2 separate regions of the Homo sapiens genome follow, and region 2 is linked to region 1. The links are contacts of gene promoters, found by promoter capture Hi-C in blood cells and fetal thymus (Javierre and others, 2016). All regions are on one chromosome and are shown on one strand. The core of a region is centred on a gene start or on the middle of the fragment in contact, and the rest is flanking DNA. Distances in the headings are between cores, read along the strand shown.

The links. Contacts are between HindIII fragments. The CHiCAGO score rates a contact against its expected background, and 5 or more counts as called.
Region 2: a fragment that was not itself captured here is called in contact with the fragment with the promoter of UBE2E1 in region 1 in 1 of 17 cell types (erythroblasts); the score reaches 5.6 in erythroblasts.

Annotation. Positions count from the first base shown.
Region 1 is chr3:23,803,950-23,808,191 of GRCh38, forward strand. It overlaps UBE2E1 (ubiquitin conjugating enzyme E2 E1), which reads left to right and starts at 2,006. Exons shown (of 6, transcript NM_003341.5): 1 at 2,006-2,139; 2 at 3,288-3,472. The coding sequence starts at 3,321. UBE2E1-AS1 (UBE2E1 antisense RNA 1) reads right to left here and starts at 2,956. Exons shown (of 2, transcript NR_046652.1): 1 at 2,870-2,956; 2 at 75-765. RefSeq lists silencers at 1,942-2,051, 2,132-2,261, 2,452-2,751, 2,952-3,131 and an enhancer at 3,432-3,521. The HindIII fragment of the contact is 12,732 bases long and covers 1-4,242 here.
Region 2 is chr3:22,555,612-22,560,088 of GRCh38, forward strand. No RefSeq gene overlaps it. Among named protein-coding and RNA genes, the nearest start is that of ZNF385D-AS2, 600 kb to the left of the region's middle. The HindIII fragment of the contact is 1,112 bases long and covers 917-2,028 here.

The DNA.
Region 1 (4,242 bases), core at 756-3,255:
AAAAGAATTCTTATTATAGCTGGTAGGCAATTTATGCAAACCAATATTAAAGAAAAAATTCACCTACTGTCCTGATCACTTCAGCAAATCAAACCTTTTATTTTCCTGTGATCTCTGCTAGTTCTTGTCTTTATAACACATGATTTTTTTACTGGTTGTATTCATAATGTAGACATATATTTTTAAGTATCAGAAATCCAAATTTTCATAGGAGGAAATTTCAATTTTAATAACTATTTTTAGATTATTTTCCTCATCCTGAGTTTATTTCATCTTCTTATTGTTTTCTTCTGAATTTACATCTTTTCATCAGAACAAAAAGAATACAATCAGTTTTTCAGAAGTTTAAAAAATTTTTTCAAATATATAGCAAAGAATGTCATCATTTTTATATACTCTACCAGGACTCCTGAAACCAAACACTTAAGAAAGGTTATGTCTGGAAATTTTTTCAAAATCTATATGCATTTCAGTGGTGGAGAAATAGTTCTGTCTGGAAGCAGGAGGCTGAAATTATGACCCTGAAGATTTCTTCCAGCTTTTGAACTTCTTATTCTATGACAACTCCTGGTAGATACAGGTTTCCTGGTAGGGATTGAGCAAGAAGCATGCACAATTACTTTATGAGTCTTGATAAAGCTGGAATTTCAGGTTGATGGTTAGAAGGAGTTCGGCTGGGTCGTGAGAATGCTTGTTTTCCTGGTTACTGGATATGCCATGGGCTGTATATCTTGTGTTGTCCTGTGGTAACTGAAGCCACTGTTGCTGTGGAAAATGATGGCAGTTTGAATGAGATAATTTAGAGTGACCTATGGAAATCTGAGGCTGTCTCCTTAATGTACAAGACCTTGTATGTGTGGCACTGTTGTATTTGAATGGCACACATCTCTTTAGTTCCCTTCAACTGAAATGACAAAAGGTGAGAAACTGAATCGTAATTTGATGGCTTAATATTAAAAAAAAATTGGCAAAAATGCTAAATAAGGAACAATTCAGAAGAATTGCTGATCATTTCAAAAATATTATTTGCATAGCATTTATAGGTAGCTAAAGAAAGAGAAAAATGGCTTAATATTTTAAAAATAATTTGGTCAATTTAGCGATCTGGGGATTCTGCGATCCCCAGAACTTTGCATCCAATTTCCAAAAACCAAACCTTACATCTAATGTAAAATGACACAAAAAATTCTAAATCCAGTCTAATTCAGTAGTATATAGCTTATTCCCAGTGATGTCTCACATTCGCAAGCCCGTTACACGTTGGTTTTACCTGTCACCAAAACCTTTGTATCACTCTTATAAAAAACCACATCACTTTCTATAAAAAGTGAGTGGAAGAATCTAATATTGTAAAACTGCACGTGCCTCGCGTGACCTGAGCAGAAAATTCCTAGTTTGGGATTTTCTCACAGGCATACCTAAACTGACCTCTGCTCCTAGCAGGTAAATTGCTAGAAGGAGAAGCAAGTGTCAGTCCAAAGAAAACCCTTGTTGTGTGATTTTTTTTTTCTCTTTAATCGCTTTTTAGGTGGAGTACCCGCTGCATTCTCTAAAGTCTTTGCCACCACCAGATTACCAACGTTTTCACCAATTTGCCACCTCCCTACTCCTCTCCTTTCCAAAAGCCCTCATTGGAAAGAACTTTCTCTCGTGACCCCCCTATTCCATCTAGTTCCAATCACTCCCAGCGCCCCCCATCTCCATCGGCTTCCCCTCTCCCGCCCAGAATCCAGGTTCCCAAACCACTTAAGAGAAAATTCACAACCCTCGCCCCCTTCCCGGGCGTCCGGAGGAGGCGCTGGGGTGGGGGTGTCTGTGGGGGACAGGGTTTCCTGGGGTCTCCTGGGTCTTCCTCGCGCACCCCCAGGAGGTGTTGCAGGGGGAGGGGAGCGCGGGTGGGTGGGACCGGGCCGGGTGGGGGAGGGGTGAGGGCGAGGAGGAGGAGGAGGAGGAGGCGGCGGCGGAGGAGTGGTGTGTGTGCGAGCGTGTGTGGCTGGGGGAAGCCATTGCCTGTTTAATAGTTGCTGTTGCTGCACTTCCGCTTCTCTCCCAGCGAGAGAGAGACACGAGTGGCCAGGCCCAGCCGCAGCCGCAGCAGCAGCCGCCGCGGCGGCACGGAGGAGCCAGACACAAAGAGAGGTACGGGGATCCCCCCAGCGGCCCGCCGCCCCCCGGCCGCGCCGCCGGGCCTCGGGGACACCCCTCGCCGCCTCCCCCGACTCGCGCCGCCGGGGCCGCCGGGCCGCAGGGCACGGGGCCGGCGCGGGGGGGGAGCGGAGAGGGGCTGGGGAGCCCCAGGGGTCCGGGGCCCGCCCGCGGGGGATGGGCAGGGACCCCGGGCCGCGTGGGGTGCGGGGGCCGCCCGCATTGAGGACGGGGGTCATTGTGGCTCGAACTGTCAGCGCTGCCCCAAGAGCCCCCCACTGGCCACCGAGGGGCCCGGGAGCGGGGGTGGGAGGGAGTTGGGGGAGCCCCGTTTTCCCCAGGGGCGGGGGTTCGCGGGGATTAACCCCTCCGGGGCGGAAGGGCTCATTGTTATGTCTTCGCTGCGGAGGCCGACCCCCCCATTCCCCGCCGCAGCCCCTATCCCCCTACAGGAGTGGCGATCGGGCGTGTGCTCCGGACCCCCGCCCGGCCGCATAGCTGTGAGCAGGGCGGCCAGAGGCAGGCAGGCCGGGAGGGGCGTCGGGGCGCGGCGCGGGGGGGCCTCGGGCCTCGTCGCCCCTGCCCCCCGCCGGCCTCTCCCTTCCCCCACCCGGGCACCCGCTCCCCGCCTCCGTCCCCCTGTTTCGGCTTCCTCTCTTACTCCTTCCCGCCCCTCCTCTCTTCCCGACCTCGCCAAACTCCGCTCGTGGCCCCACAGTCTCACCCGGGCCACCGGCCCCTCACGACCCCCGGAAAGCGGACAAAAACAGCCCCGAGGCCGGCCGGCCGCCGGGACCTTCCCTCCCTGCCCCGCCGTGGCGCCCCGCGCCCCCCGCCCTGCCCTCCTTCGCCTCCCGGGCTACTCCCTCCCTGCCCAGCGGAGAGCCCCGGGGGGCGAGGGAGGGGCCTCTCTCCTAGCTCCAGACCGTTTTCCCACAGCGTTCCCCACTTGGGGCCAAAAATAAACAAGCCGCGTCCGATTTGCAAAAGCCTTAATGGGCCTGCAGACTTTGAAAAGCGAGTGGAGGGCGGTGGGCGGCCGCGTGCGCCCCTGGTCAATGCCCTCCTGACAGCACCCGAGTTCCTTATTTACACTGGCTGCATGGTTTGTGTGTTTCTGTTTTGTTTCTCTCCCCCTGCAGGGGCTGTTTGCGGGGTGGGGTGGGGGGTTCGCTATGTCGGATGACGATTCGAGGGCCAGCACCAGCTCCTCCTCATCTTCGTCTTCCAACCAGCAAACCGAGAAAGAAACAAACACCCCCAAGAAGAAGGAGAGTAAAGTCAGCATGAGCAAAAACTCCAAACTCCTCTCCACCAGCGCCAAGAGGTACTGTGCTCTTTTTTTTTTCCACAGGCTTCCTATTTCCGAACTGCCTCTTGCTGCATTTGGTCTGCCTCCCAATGAGGATAGCTTAAACGCTCCTCATGGTTTATGTGTTCTTAAAAATGAAAGAAGGGCCTTGGAAGCCCTAATTATTTTCTCTATTGCTGCTTCTGTTTTTAAATCATTGCTCACATGCAGCTGTTGCGGCTTGCCTCTCGCATTTCTTGCTGAAGTTTGTAAGATTCCTCGTTACTTTTATTAGTGACCCCCAAATCTGATTTCAGATTTCTTGTCCTACTAATGGTTAATCTGTGACCTTCCCCAAGGCCATGATCCCATTTCTTAATTACTAATACCAGCCCAGAGAACTGCATCAAAATGAATTCTGTGACCATTTTACCTTCTCCTCACCTGTTGCATGGATGATCTTTTCTAAATAGAGCTTTCTTCACAAATTGCATAAGGAATAAGAAACTCATATTAGCAGGTACAAAATTTAGTAGGTGAAGACAGATGTTTTCTGGTGGAATTTAAAGAGATTTTTCTGAGAGTTGAGGCAAATGAATGAATCAGTAAGTGACTATAAAATGGTTATTCTAGGTTATTTTTGTGGTTCTCTTTAAAAACTTCAGTTTACCAATTTCAGGGAGACTTGTCTTTTTTTCATGCTATTTGCTGTCCTCATGCTGTGAAAATGTTACTTTGCCTTATTTTTTCAATTTAAGTGGTCTCCCTTTTACTTTATTCTTTTCCTCTTAAGGCCCTGAAGGTAG
Region 2 (4,477 bases), core at 223-2,722, 1.2 Mb before region 1:
TAGCCCAGCCAGACCAAGCCCTCCCATACCTCTCTAATCTCATTTTCTTCCATCTACTTCCTTGCTTTCAATAGTCCCACTATACTAGCCTTCTTTATGTTCTTCAAATACTTCAAGCTTATTTCTATTTTAAAGCTCTGTCTCTTGCTTTTCCCTCTGCCTTGCAAGACTTGCCCCAGATATTCACATGATGCTGCCTAAGCCCTGCAGACTCAGCTCAAGTATTCTCTCCTTGGTGACATTTTCTGGACTGCACAAGCTCAGAGCACTTAGCACTTTAAAATTGTTTTATCATCTCCTCTAAGCTCCACAAGAGCATGGAGCATGTCTATCACATTCAACAGTAGAGATGCCTAGTGCCTGTAAGTGCTTGACAAACAGTAGATGTTCAAAAAGGACTGCTGTTACATGACCGAGTATGTGTGCATATGGTTTAGTGAGAGAAGGTCACTTGAAAATTGCAACTTAGCCAATTGCCCAGCCATGAAAATTTAAAGAAGAATAAGCTCTTTCTGCCAATTCATGCTGTTTGTGCTATGCCCTTATGTGGCAGGTTCTCAAATCAGCAACGGGTATTTGGTGGCAGAATGGCAGTGGTGATTTTGGTGATGATGATGATGACTAAATGAGTTTTCCTGCACTGTACCCTCAGATAACAAGTCTGTACACAGGCCAAAAACCTCAACCAACCAACCTCCAACTAACGGTCAGAAAAGATAGAAAGTAAATTCTTTTCTGCTCCTGAATTTTAATTGTGACTTGCAACGTACATGTGTTTCTCCTTTATCTTCTCTAAGCGCAAGGCACTGTCAGTTTTCCTCAGCGGCTTGCTACAATGAAGTGTGTATGTCTATGCATATATGTATTCATTCCTCAGGATTTTGAGTGAAACTCCAAGTTTTATTTACACTCGCAAAGCTTCTACAAATTTGTAAAGCCACAAAACTCAAGGCTGACTCTAAAATCTTTAGACATGCCATTCCAATTTGGTGGCAATCAGAGTTCAGGTCATATTTATGTGGCTTCTTAGTCCCAGCAATATTTAAACTTCAAATGCTGAGCATCGTATGTACAAGCATGATGCAGTGCAACCTGAACCTGGAAAAAAAAACACTCCAGCACCTTTGATTGTCCTGTTGATTGCAGAGTGGTGAACCCATGTACACTGACTTTTCAATCAACCACTTTTTGCCTCAGTCGGCTCAGAAAGAGAACTTCAGCTAAATAAATATTTCTGACAATTGACCTGCAGTGCAACAAGACGCTCACAAAAGAAAAAGGAAAAGATACATCTAAACTGCCTGTCAGCTTTTCTTTTTCTGATAGAAAGTAGAGCTTCAGATACTCTGAGAAAGATTCCAATTTGTACAATTTGTACATACTGGTGGTAGCAGAAAATAAAGCCAAACTATAAGGGAGTTCAAAGTGTCACTCATTTTACAATTAAAAATCAAGGACATCAGGAAGGAATGAAAATAACTCACTTGTATAGAGGCAGTGAAAACAACATTCACGTCACAGATATAGCCATTTCCATCTCCACCCTCCTCATTACTCAGGCTGAAAAATGGAAGAGTGAGGCTGTCTTACCCAGGCTGAACTCTTCCCTGCAGCCAGAGAAGGGGAGACAGTGGAGGAACCTAGCTGTGTCAAGCTAGCTCTGTGACCTTGGTAGGTCACCTCATGGCTGCACCTCTCTTTTCCCATCTACGAAATGCGGAGGTGGAGATGAGGATTGTAATTCCTGTTAATTCTAATATTCTAATAGTTTGTTTTTCACAACCTGCAGAAAAACATAAGGGAAAACAACTTGATACTTCTATTCTCTCCTTTCAATACAAGTAATACATGAATCACTTAAATTCAAATTGAAAAAGAACAAATAGAATTTCACCCCTTCTCCCTATTCCTAGTTTTCTCAATAATGTGTTTTAAATCTATTTCCATATCTTTCAGGACCCAAGGATATTTCTTCCTAATTTCCACCTCCAAATTTGCTACTTCATGGCACTTACTTTTTAATGAGTAAGCTTCTGCTTTCTTCAAGAAGCTATCTGAGAAGGTGGGGTCAGAGAACCAAAAGATATCATTTATTCTCTTAGGAATCTGAGACTATAAATATTTTGTTATGGGTGCAGATTCTTTTAACCTGAAGTTTAGATCATGTTAAATAGAGAGTATCTGCCTTAAAACAGCTTGACATGTGACCCCTATATTTATAACCCTTCTAACTTAAAACTGCAGTACTCACCAAAACTCACATATACCATTGCCAAAAGATTGCTACTTAAGTATGTTTTCCATATTGGGACACATAAGCCAATCTACAACCATGTATATACAATGCAAACATTTATTTCATAATTACTTTTTAATTTTGTAGATCTTCTTCAATTTGTGAATTTCCTTTGCTTTGCTGTACTTGAAATGGACAGCACATGCATGGCCCATAAAATTAAAAACCAAAAAAAGTCAATGAAATCTTTTATTTGGGAAATTAATTCTTGATGGTTTGAGTCAACAAGAATCAAGAATAAAAGATTCTAAATCTACTCTGTGAGATAAAATGGTCCCATTGCACAGTGAGTGCTCTCCTTCAAGGCAAGCAAAGAGATGCTTGAAGCCCATGATAGTGCTAGGCCCATAGAACCAATGATGATAAGAAAGCTGTTTTGCTAATGTAGGAAATAGGAAAACTTTTTATTCTATTGTTCTAGAATCAGATGATGTAAATTCCTATACCTGTATACTAGACAGTTGAAACAGTCTTGGTGACACTGATACCACAAAATTTTCTCACCAAACAACAGAACTTGGCAGGCCTAGTATCATATTCAGCCATAGTTCAATCATAAAGGAATTTGGAAAAAACTCTGCCCTAAGTTTGGTCAAGATCTTGAAACTTTATGCTATAATAAGTATCACTGAAACTGTGACAAACATTACACACATTACACATATCCTAGAACTAAAAGTTTCTTTCGTGGTTTGAATTATTGGATCCAAAAATTTTAGCATTGAAATTCTTATTGAAATGGAAAAGTAAGAACTGTTGAAGATTTTTTTAAAAAAGAACTAAGCATGAAAACCATACTTTAGCTAACAGAAAACTTTTCAGTATTCTCCTAGATATAGATACAAGTAAAATAAGCAATGCCAGCATTCTGGAGAATAGTTCTCCCCTTCTCTGTTGCTATTCCTACTTTATTGCCTTCATAGAAACTTTCCCTCTCTGACATTGCCAGATTTGCTTACCTATTCCATGTATAATATCTATCTTCCCCTAATAAAATGTAAGCTCCATGAGGACAGACACATTATGTCTCTTGTTCACCATCATATCCACAGCAAACATTTGAAAATAAAATAATTGAATAGACGAATGTATAAATGTATGAGGTAAAATTTGAATGTAGTACAAAGTTTCTTGACATGATGAAGCATGCCTGTATTGCTACAAATAAGGATAAGTAGAAATACAAATAAGTAGAATAAATAGGAAGAGAGTCATCTTTAATAAAACCTGCCTAGCATTTTAAGAAGCCTCAAATAACTTGTGCAAAAAAGTTACCAATATTATTATCCAATAATATGTTGGATAATATATTACTACATAAATAAATGTATTGTGCCTTATAATTTAAATACTTGGTGGTATACGATTAAAGCATTCTTTAAAAAGCATGTATTTCTGTTTGACTTGTTTTCTGATAAACTATTCTATTTAAATAGTGTGAAATGTGCTTTTAGAACCTAAGTACAGCATACATAACATGAACACCGTCTATTTCAGAAATAAAAATTCAGTTTACCATTGTGGGACTTAATTCATTAGTTTTTGATGTTTTAAATTAGGGATTTCTTATTTACAGTTTTTTTTCCTACTTTTTCCGTTAACATGATCCTATTCATGTTATACATTTTATAACTATCATTGCACTGTATTCTAAATTATGTTAGGTAAGTATGTTATGAAAGCATAACTAGATAAACTGGACTACATCAAAATTTAACATTTCCTCATCAAAGGACACAATCAACAGAGTGAAAAGGCAACCCATGGAATGAAAGACAGTATTTATAAATCATATATCTTCAAATCACCAAACAAATGAAGAGCTCCTACAACTCAAAAACAAATAGTTTAAAAATGGGCAAAGCACTTGAACAGACTTTTCTCCAAAGAAGATATACAAATTGCTAAGAAGCATATGAAAAGAGGCTCAACATCATTGTCATTAGGAAAACGCACAACAAAACCACCATGAGTTACTACTTCATACCCATTAGGACATCCAGTATGAAAACAAAAAAAAAAAACAGGACATACCAAAGGATGACGAGGATGTAGAGAAATTGAAACTCTTGTACATGATTGGTGGGAATGTAAAATGGTACAGCCATTATGAAAATCAATATAACAGTTCCTCAAAAATGTAAAAGTTACCATATAATCTAGCAATTCCATTTCAAGGTA